2 separate regions of the Homo sapiens genome follow, and region 2 is linked to region 1. Evidence: promoter capture Hi-C in 16 types of primary human blood cells and fetal thymus (Javierre and others, 2016). All regions are on one chromosome and are shown on one strand. The core of a region is centred on a gene start or on the middle of the fragment in contact, and the rest is flanking DNA. Distances in the headings are between cores, read along the strand shown. Region 1 holds the start of DUSP4 (dual specificity phosphatase 4). Region 2 has its middle 60 kb from the start of LINC02948.

The links. Contacts are between HindIII fragments. The CHiCAGO score rates a contact against its expected background, and 5 or more counts as called.
Region 2: a contact is called between a fragment that was not itself captured here and the fragment with the promoter of DUSP4 in region 1, in 2 of 17 cell types (non-activated CD4 T cells and M2 macrophages). The highest score is 6.0, in non-activated CD4 T cells.

What each region holds. Positions count from the first base shown.
Region 1 is chr8:29,348,413-29,353,622 of GRCh38, forward strand. DUSP4 (dual specificity phosphatase 4) reads right to left here and starts at 2,272. Exons shown (of 4, transcript NM_001394.7): 1 at 1,434-2,272. The coding sequence starts at 1,866. It overlaps LOC124901924 (a long non-coding RNA gene), which reads left to right and starts at 2,562. Exons shown (of 2, transcript XR_007060876.1): 1 at 2,562-3,122. RefSeq lists silencers at 390-559, 2,130-2,449, 2,640-2,779 and enhancers at 1,270-1,771, 1,300-1,449, 1,772-2,271, 2,970-3,039, 3,080-3,189. The HindIII fragment of the contact is 21,736 bases long and covers 1-5,210 here.
Region 2 is chr8:29,619,439-29,624,648 of GRCh38, forward strand. No RefSeq gene overlaps it. Among named protein-coding and RNA genes, the nearest start is that of LINC02948, 60 kb to the left of the region's middle. The HindIII fragment of the contact is 3,731 bases long and covers 341-4,071 here.

The sequences.
Region 1 (5,210 bases), core at 1,022-3,521:
GCTTTGGGGAGAAGGGAGGGGGACTGGGCTCATTTGGAGGAGCAAAAGACAGCCCTCGCGGAAAAAGAAAGAAAAATCAGCAAAATCGCCTTAGCAGTTCAACCAAAGGTCAACAGCAGCGTTTCCCCAGCAGCTGACAGGTCAAATGGGCAGGAAACAACTGCGGGGAACAAAGCCCCCCGCTGTCCGGCAGGGGCGAACCCGGCTCCTCCGCACTGAACAGTTTTGTTGTGCTTTTTGGAGGGGAGAGGTTTCCGCCCCCTTTCCAGCTCCCTTCCTCCCGGGTGGACAGGTCGGAAGAGGAGCGGAAAGGAAAGGAAGGGAGGGAGGCGGCGAAGGCGCCTGCGGGGGGGAGGAGCGGCTCTTTGATGGGTGTGGGGGGGTCTGAACTGCCTACCGGGCTCGGAAGCGCAGACCCTACCCGCGCGGAAGAATGCGCGGAATGCGGCGGCGGGAGGCGGAGGCGCAGCGCGGCGGGGGGCGCCCGGACCCCACGCGCCCTGCCCGCTCCCTAGCCCGAGGGCCGCGGACCCACCCTGCCCTGCAGGTGTGGCGGGCGCCAGGTCCCTCCAGGGACTCGGACAGCACGCGATTTTTCCAGGATTTCCGACTACCAAATGTGACAAGACAGTCTCGCCGCCGAGAGTTTCGCCAGGGCTCGCTAAAATCCGGCACGCGCCGCCATCAGATAGTCGAAAATCCGGGCTGAACAAAAGGTGATCATTCTCCGCTGCCCGGATTTGCAGGCGCTAGAGGACCGGTTCCGCCCGGCGTCCCCCAGATACCCAGTCCTTCAGCCTCCCGCTCCCAGAGCCTGGATCTAGCCCGGGACGGGGATTGGCCACCTTCCAAGCTGAGCTTGGAGTTGGGCAGCGGGAACGCAGATACAGATCGCTCTACACAGTGTGTGCAACCCAATCTCCCTTTCTGCATTTGCCAGGGTCTTGTTTTCAGTGAAACTGGCAAGGCCAATTGTACCTCGGCGCCCACCCCTCTTCACCTTTTCTCCACCTCTGGGATTCTCCCGGTCCGGCTCAGTGTAGGGCCCCAGCACGCCAAACCAACAGGCCTATCTTGTCCCCACGCGCCCCGTGGTACTTGGAAACTGTTCCCGGGACTCAAGATGGACCGCGCAGAGGAGTCGCTTCATCCTCGAGGCTAGGACCGTTAATGTCAATAAACGGGGCCTCGCTAGGACGGTGCGGAATTGCAGGTGACCGGAGAAACCCGTCCGCACTTTCCCTGAGGACTTGAACCTCGCACTTGCACAGAAACCTTGCAAACCCCTACACACCAACACACACAAAGGGGCGCGCGGGGATCCCCGCAACCACGAATCACGCCGGGGACTCCTTCCCGTGCCAATAAGGCGCAGGCCGCCAAGACCCCCTCCATCTCCCCGACTCCAGCTAGCGCCCGGAGCCCTCGTTTACCTTTGAGCAGGCAGATGTCGGTGCGCTCGGCGTTGCGGCGCAGCGCCTGCACCACCAGCGACACGGTGCTGTCCTCGCGGAGGCTCTCGGCGCGCGGGCTGCGCTCGTCGTAGACGATGACCGCCGAGTAGAGGCCGGAGCGCAAGCGGGCGCGTACCTCCTCCTCGGCGGGCAGGATCTGCTCCAGGCTCACGGAGCCCTTAGCCCGCCGCCGCACGATGGTGTTACAGCGCACGTTGACCGAACCTAGGATGTAGCCCGCGCTGTGCGCCAGGAACGGTCTGCAGTCCAGCAGCAGGCACTTGCCGCCGCTCGGCAGCCCCAGGGTGCCGTGGCTGCCGCTGCCGCCCGCGCCGCCGCCATTCTCGTCCCGGTTCATCAGCCTTTTGAGCACACTGCAGTCCATCTCCCGCAGCTCCTCCATCGTCACCATGGTCGCCGGGAACCGAGGCGGCTGGGCGCGCGAGGAAGAGAAGAGAACCCGGGCCGCCTAGGCTGCAGAAAGGGGCGGGCGAGAGCTAAGAAGGGACGCCTGCAGAAGTGGCCGCAAACTTGGTCCTCAAGGGCTCCCGCGGGAGAGCCTCTTCTTCCCTGTCCCCTTCCTCCCGCAGCCTCGCGGTCACATAGCAGTCGGAGCGGCCTCGGGCGCCCAGCCGGGCGGCGCGCAGAGCGGAGGGGGAGGCGCCGGTGGAGGAGAGTGTGTTTACGAGAGAGGACCGCGGACTCTTTTCGGCGACGGCCTCCCGTGTATTTTTGCCGGTCGCGCGGCTCCTGTCGCCACTGGCGCCAGCGCTGCCCTGCCTACGCTCCTCCGGCGCTCAGCGCACTGCCCCAGCCAGAGTTTTCTCCTCGGCTTAGAGGTTTATTAATGCTCCTCCGCGCTCCCGGGGGAGGGGGCGCTAGGTACTACCCCGCCAGGCCCCGCCCCGTTCCATTCCGGGCCCCGCGCCGTCCCCCGCCCCCCGCGCTGTCCCCCGCCCCCCGCGCTGACTCCCCGCCCCCTCCGGGCCCCTCCTCCCACCCCCTCCCCGGAGCTTGAATGGAGCGCGGCCGCTGGCTCCCGGTCACGGGAACTCGACGTCACAAAGAGCGGAGTAAACAGGGCGCCGGGTGCTCGCCATCAGGCCCATTCATAAAACCGAGGCCGAGAGGAAGAGGGAGGCGGCCTCCGACCCGCCGCCAGCGGCGGGCAGCGCCCGGACTTTGTGAATGGAGCGCGCGGCGCCTTTCGCCGTCTACCCGCGGGCCCAGCCTGCGCCGCGCCTCCAGCCCGACACCGGCACCTGTGCCGCCGCTGCACCCCGCCGCTAGGCGGGCGGCGCCAAAGGAAATAGCCGGCTGAGGAGGCCAGGGCTCGGGTTTGAGCTTTCATCCCTTGGCACCTTCGCGCTTCCCCGCGTGACAGCCCCGTAGGTTTTTCCCGGTTACCCAAGTGGAGAGGGGACCGGAGCGCTGCTGCCCACCCAGCGGGGCCTGACACCTCCTAGCCCCAGACTCCCCGTGCGCTTTCGGCCCGGCCAGTCCTTTCTGAATATGCGATTCCTGAGACGTTAGCGTATGCATTAGCGTGATCGATTTTCATCTAAAGCCATTAAATCAGTTTTATAGCTTCCCCAAGAACGTGGGCAACCCCCTGCTTGGAAGATGAAAGAGAAAGTCCTCCCGCCCGAAGCCCAGGATCGGAGTGAGGTGTGGGGTTTGTTGCTTTACTACCCAAAGGGAGGCATTAATTGCCGGAATGGTGTTCCGAGGGAGGAGAGCAGGCTGCGCTCCTGTCCACGCTTCCTAAAAGATGTTTATTTAACCCTGGTCGGGGGAAAAACAAGGTTTTCGGGTTTGGGAAACGTCTTCACCCTATCTTGCATAGTTGTGAATTATCCTTTCAGGAAATGACAGGGTCCACATTTGTTGCGGAGCTGGACCCTGGAAAATGTACCCGCAAAGAATGACCTTTTGAAAGGACTTCAGCAGCTCTGGGTCCGATTCATGTTTCTGGGCATCCCTTTTTCCTGGTCACGTAGCAGCCCTCCCCATCCCCATTTCTCTTTTGCATTTAATTTCCCAGAGGCGGCTTTTGGCTGGGGGTTTGTGCACGCACGCGGTGGGGACCGTGCAGAAGCCAAAAATCATTCGCCCGACATCTTGCCAAGTCTTGTTAGTGAGAATTAATCACAGAGCAAGGGAGTTACAGGACTCGCTCGCAGTTTCGGAGGCTGCAGAGTAGCGTATTCCATTCCGGGGCGCGCGTGGAAGCCCGACCCAGGCAGCGAGGGCACCGGTACCCGCCGGGTCTCTCCCGCCCAAGCTCACCCTCTCCCCATGCCTTTGTTCCGGGCGGAGCGGCTTTCCCGAGCTCTCACCTCCGGTCCCGGGGGCCATCCCTGCACTCCCCGACCGGAGCTCGGCGGAGCCTCCACTTCCGAGACCTTCGACTGGCCTCGTCCCCCACTGGGCCCCGAATGCCTCGACCCCCGGGCCCTACTCGGATGAGCTGTAGGGGCACCGCTTGGGCAAGGTGATATTTCCTTTTGCTCCGGGCTCCAAAATGGCTTACGATGGCACTGCACGGATCCTTTCTCTTTTTAAAATTTAGTATTTTATTCATCATGGATTTTTTGCATTTTTTTTTCTTTTAAAGAGGCATTGCATCAAGATATTTCTTTTGATTACTGACTTTTCGGCGCCCTTCTTAAATGTTGCGCTCAAGGCTTGTGCTCACCCTAGTCCAGGCCCTGGAAGGAGCCACAACTGTGGACTGACCGAGGCTGCCCGGTGGCAGGACCCTGGGCGTCGGGCACTCCGGGTGGGAGATCAGTGGTCAAAGCCGCACGGCGTGGCCTCCCTGTGGGGAGGGCAAAAGGTGTCTGAGTCCAGTTTCCCATTCTGCTGAATGGGACTGTGGGGGTCTATCTAATAACTCGCTTTCGATAAGGAGCAAGGAGCCCCAGGGGCCCCGACAGTCCAAGGCTGATTTTGCTTTCCCGGGTTGCTCTCCAGCAGCTCAGAAATCCGCCGCCTGCCAGGACCCAGGGCCGGAGCTCTCCCGGCGCAAGTAAACACTGATTCCTTTACAAAGGCTTTAACAAGACATTTCTGGGAAAAGCCTCTCAGGAGGCAGGTCCGGGCCAATTTCACGCGTGTCGCAGGAGCTGGGGAGACGTCCCTGGGGCGCACGGGTCGCGCTCTGGGCCAGCTTTTGTCTACCCTGTTCTGGGGTCGCCTTCCCCGCCGGACCCGCGCCTGGCGCTCACGTGGCCAGTAAATAACAGTCAAATCCAGGGGGAGGAAAATGCCCATAGAACAAAGAGGCTTGCTTTCTGCACCTGACAGTAATCGCTGGTGGAGAAGCCCTAAATCCCGCAGGCGATTCACACGGAAAGGGGTGTGGGAGGGCGCGTGTGAGTGTGTGTGTCCACGTGTGCGTGCCCGCGCCTACGCGGCTGTTCACTGGAAGGGAGTCACAGCTTGGGACTTAATGTGTTTAAGCCGAGAGCCACTTGAATTGCGAAAGCGAAGGCCTGATTTTTAAAAAAGACTAATTTTTAAAATCCACACCCCATTGCCAACTCAGGAATTGGCCTTCAGTTGTGTGAATTTCAGCAAAGGAGATTTAAGTTACCATATTGTATTTATCGGGATACTGTGTAAACACCCTAGATATATATTTTTTAATTGTATGTTTGTGAACCATTGGTCCACAGTTAAATGAGTACAACGCGAGGGCTACTCCATGCCGGCTATAGATAAAACCTGTCTCCAATTCGTCTGCAGTCTGTG
Region 2 (5,210 bases), core at 956-3,455, 270 kb after region 1:
CAACCCTGCTAGACCCTCAGATCACAGCTGCCATAGTCTCTTTGATCCCTCAAGTCTGAGTCAGGCTCCCATAAGCACTCCTCTCATTGCATTTATTACAGGATGATATGTTAGCTTCCTACAAGAATTTCAGATCAAGGAAAGCAGGAACTCATCTGTGCAGATTGCCTTGGGATGCAATGGGCCATGAATTTTGACACATATTTTGACAGAGTCAGATGTTCTGACACCACTTGCACTCTTTGGCCAAGAATTCTTTAACACTATGCTGGTGACTTGACTTTAGACCCCTCTTGGCTTCAGAATTCTGCTTTCATTTGCTTTCTCATCAATTGAGAAAAGCTTAGGCTAAACCCCACAGTAAATTACAAAATGCTATATGGCTAACAAATGCAAGCATGCTATATGAGGGTTTGATATGAAGAAATAGCTTGGGCAAGGGCTTCTTGCTTTTCAAGCAGGTGTTAAATGCACTAAAGAAATGTTCACCTTCCCATTACTCTACCACCTGCAACTTTTCTCCACAGCATGGGTAGCTGGTGGATGGTCATGAAGAAAGTGTTCATCTTATGAATCTTTCCTTCTGTTTAAAAGTCCATTTCCCTTTTGTAGAAAAATATACAAGGGAGCAAGATGCCATGAGAGTGTTAACAGCCAAAAGTAATGGGCCAGGTGAGCATGGATAAGAAAGCAGGAAGTCCCTAACTGGACTCTCTGTTTTAGTGGTTTTCTGAACTTGAACCAGCTCTTTAAACTTAGATGCTCTGCGAAGCTCTGGGGGTAAAAAAAAAAAAAAAAAAAAAAAGGCAAAATAGTTTTTGCTTTTGTGGAGCTCCTAGTCTGGTAGTAGAGACAGAAATGGAAGCAGAAAATGACATCTAGCTTGATACATCCTATAAGAAAGGAGATACAGTGCAGAGCAAGGGACCAGTGATGACATTGAATTTCACCTTAAAAGTCTGAGGCCGGGCACGGTGGCTCATGCCTGTAATCCCAGCACTTTGGGAGGCTGAGGCGGGAGGATCATGAGGTCAGGAGATCGAGACTATCCTGGCTAACACGGTGAAACCCTGTCTCTACTAAAAATACAAAAAATTAGCCAGGCGTGGTGGCAGGCGCCTGTAGTCCCAGCTACTCGGGAGGCTGAGGCAGGAGAATGACGTGAACCCAGGAGGCAGAGCTTGCAGTGAGCCGAGATAGTGCCACTGCACTCCAGCCTGGGCAATAGAGCAAGACTCCGTCTCAAAAAAAAAAAAAAAAGTCTGAGTGGGGTTTGCCAAGAGGAGTAGGAGAAAGGGATTCCAGGCAGGTGGAGAGTACTGAGCAAAGATAGAGGCACAAATAGGAAAGGGAGGTGGAAGGGAGGGAGCATTGGTTGAATGCGCCGTATGTATCAAATGCTTTGCAAGCGTTATCTCGTTTCATGTTTCCAAGAACCTCAGGAAAGTGGACATCATTCTTCCCGTTTGATAGATGAAGAAACTGAAGTTCAGAGTGGTTACGGTCACAGAGCCTGTCAGTTATGAAGAAATAACTAAGTTTTTCTGATTCAATGTCTTCATTTTTTTCATGACACCTCATCACCCTCCCTCTGCCTGGGTTGGAAAGAGGGTGAGAAATTCAGGGTGGAGGGAGAGAGGTTGGGAAATTGAGATTGGCTGGGAGATCAGCTGGGGTTGTACTGGGAAGGGCCTGGTGAGGCACTCTAAATAATTTGTCATGTATCTGGCAGGCTGTGGGGTATCTAACAGAAGTGTGTGTTTGTGTGTGTGTGTGTGTGTGTGTGTGTGTGAGAGAGAGAGCACACACATGTGCATGTGCTTAACAGAGAAACACCATAATCGCGTTTTAATTTTTTTCCGTTGTTGATTCACATATATGATTCAAAATGCAAAAGGCACAAAAAGGTGCTGAAGGTGTAATTTCCCTCCTGTCCCTGACCCCCAGCCATCTCCAGAGGAGATATGCATCACCCATTCCTTACTTACCTTTTCGGAATGGTCAGTGCATACAGAAGCAGATATATGGGGGTGCTAAAAAGATAATCACACCCTGATATTTTGTGACATAAGAACTTATTTTTGAGGTTGTTTTTATAACTGTTTATAAAATGCTTCCCTATTTTTTTAACAGCTGCATAGTGTTCCATTGATTGTATTTGCTGTCATTTGTTTTTAAAAGATCCATAATGGTAGGCATTTGAGTTATTTCCGTTATAAAAATGCTGCATAAACGTTTGTGTCATTTCACTCATATCCATAAGGGACATTCCCAGAAGTGGAAATGCTGGGGCACTGGGCAGAGGCAGCATTTGTAATTTGCCAAACTGCCCTCCACGGAGGTTGCAATTTCTACTACCGCTAGTGTCTGAAGGCGCCTCTTTCTCAGTCAACATCGTTGCTCACACAGTGGGCTAGAAAACTTCGGATTTTTGCCAATGTTTGGGTGACAAATGCTATTTCAGTGAAGTTTTAATTTTTATTTATTTATTTTTTTGAGGCGGAGTCTCATTTTGTCTCCCAGGCTGGAGTGCGTGCCATGGCGCCATCTCGGCTCACTGCAACCTCCGCCTCCCCGGTTCAAGCGATTCTCCTGTCTCAGCCTCCTGAGTAGCTGGGATTACAGGCGTGTGCCACCACGCCTGGCTCACTTTTATATTTTTCGTAGAGATGAGGTTTCACCATGTTGGCCAGGCTGCTTTTGAACTCGTGACCTCAGGTGATCCACCCGCTTCAGCCTCCCAAAGTGCTGGGATTACAGGCATGAGCCACTGCACCCGGCCCACAGTGAGGTTTTACTTTCAATTACTTTATGAAGCGAAATTGTGTGTCTCTTAAGTTTATTATTTTGTATCCATCTTATGATTTAAAAAATTATCTGCCCATTTTTCTATTTAGTTCTTGATCATTTTTTTCATTTATTTTTAGGAGCTTAAATGTACTACGTATATTTTATAAAGAAAAATAGATAATAGCATTAGTCATGAGGATGGTGTGAGATAGGAATAGGGTGAAGGAGACAAATGGGAAAGGAGAGCCATTTCTGGGTAGAAATGATAGGGTTGATGACTGAGTTAATGTGGTAGGTATGGGGAGAGGGGAGTCAAATATGAGTTTGAAAAATCTAGCTTGGGAGGCTGGCTAAGCAGTGATTTATGAACTAAGATCAGGAAAACCACAGAAGTAGCTTGGGATGATGGGAGCTTGCAAATAATTATTACCTGTATGTGTGTATGTATATACTGTGTGTGTGTGTGTGTGTGTGTGTGTGTATATATATATATGTACATATATCTGTTGTGTAATTATATGTGTACTTATATGTAGTGGTCCCCCACCTTTTTTTTTTTTTTTTTTGAGACGGAGTCTCACTCTGTTGCCCGGGCTGGAGCACAGTGGCACTATCTCAGCTCACTGCGAGCTCCCCCTCCCGGGTTCACACCATTCTCCTGCATCAGCCTCCGAAGTAGCTGGGCCTACAGGCGCCTGCCACCACACCCAGCTAGTTTTTTGTATTTTTTAGTAGAGACAGGGTTTCACAGTGTTCGCTAGGATGTTCTCAATTTCCTGACCTTGTGATCTGCCCGCCTCGGCCTCCCAAAGTGCTGGGATTACATGCGTGAGCCACTGCACCCGTCCAATGGTCCCCAACCTTTTTGGCACCAGGGAACAGTTTCGTGGAAGGCAATTTTTCCAGGGAATGGGGCAGGGGGAGGATGGTTTTGGGGCAATTCAAGTGCATTACATTTATAGTGCCCTTTATTTCTATTATTATTACATTGTAATATATCATGAAATAATGACAAAACTCACCATAATGTAGAATCACTGGGAGCCCTGAGTTTGTTTTCCTGTAACCAGATGGTTCTATCTGGGGGTGATGGGAGACAGTAACAGATCATCAGGCATTAGATTCACATAAGGAGCATGCAACCTAGATCCCTTGAATGTGCAGTTCACAATAGGGTTCACACTCCTATAAGAATCTATTAATAATGCCTCTGCTGATCTGACAGGAGGTAGAGCTTAGGCGGTATTGTGAGCAATGGGGAAATGCTGTAAATACAGATGAAGCTTCACCCACTAGCCCACCGCTCACCTCCTGCTGTTCAGCCTGGTTCCTAACAGGCCACGGACTGGTACTGGTCTGTGGCCCGGGGGTTGGAGACCCCCATGTATATGTATGTATGTATGTGTGTGTATACATATATAAAAGATCTATCTATCTATCTATCTATCTATCTATCTATCTATCTAATATCTTTCCCATATGAAAAAGGATTTGAAGCAGTTTATAAAACACAGACACACTACAAAAGAATAAAATTCATTGAAGAAATTTCGTTGAAGGAAAAATTAGGAAAATGTAACAATAAATCCAGGGGTGAGATTACATCTGGCAATGTGTATTATGCAGTCCTCTGCAGCTGCTAAAGGTAGGCTGTTAATTTGGCCCAAAGCCTCCTGCAGGCCAAAGCTAAGGTGGAAACACACCAGACTGCCAGAGTGACTGTGCAAACAATCACCTCTCTTGGCCTCACCGGACAAATCAGCTGCCATTAGCATTAGTGTCTTCATTCTGCCATTTCTTGCCCTTTAACGACACTCATGCTCCCCTTTGCCCTGTACCAGGAAGTACATCTGGGCATCCCCAGGGAGTGTCATATGAACCTATGAATAAAGCCAGGCCCCTGGGACACTGCCACTCTCTAGTCCAGACAATCCTGCCTGGCCACTGACTTGCCAGTGGGTAGATACCACTCCCAAGGATGGCTCAGGGGCATCTCTTCTGATAGATTGGACTCTGGGGGTACCAGGCCCTCCTGGCTTTCCTGCCAACTCTCTGGCTATGCCTCTTCAGTGCCCACGGGGAATCCTCCTCTTTCTGCCTTCTCTATGGGAGTGCTCTGGGGCTTATTCTTTGGCCCTCTTGTTTTCCCTCTCCACTTTTCCATCAATCAGAGGCTGCTTCTTAATAGGCCACATGTGTTCAAACCAGAAATGAGTCCCCATACCTTGTCTGTGGGGCTGGGAAGAGGACCAGGGACCACATATTCCCTTTCTTCCTCTTTCTGGGCTCTGGACATTTATGTAAGAAACACTTTCTTGAAAGTTTCATCCCCTCCCATGAAAATCATTCATGCACATTGGGGCTTGAGGGGTTGCCCTCCCACATGACTTCAGCCCAGGATCCATGGAATCTGCAGGCCT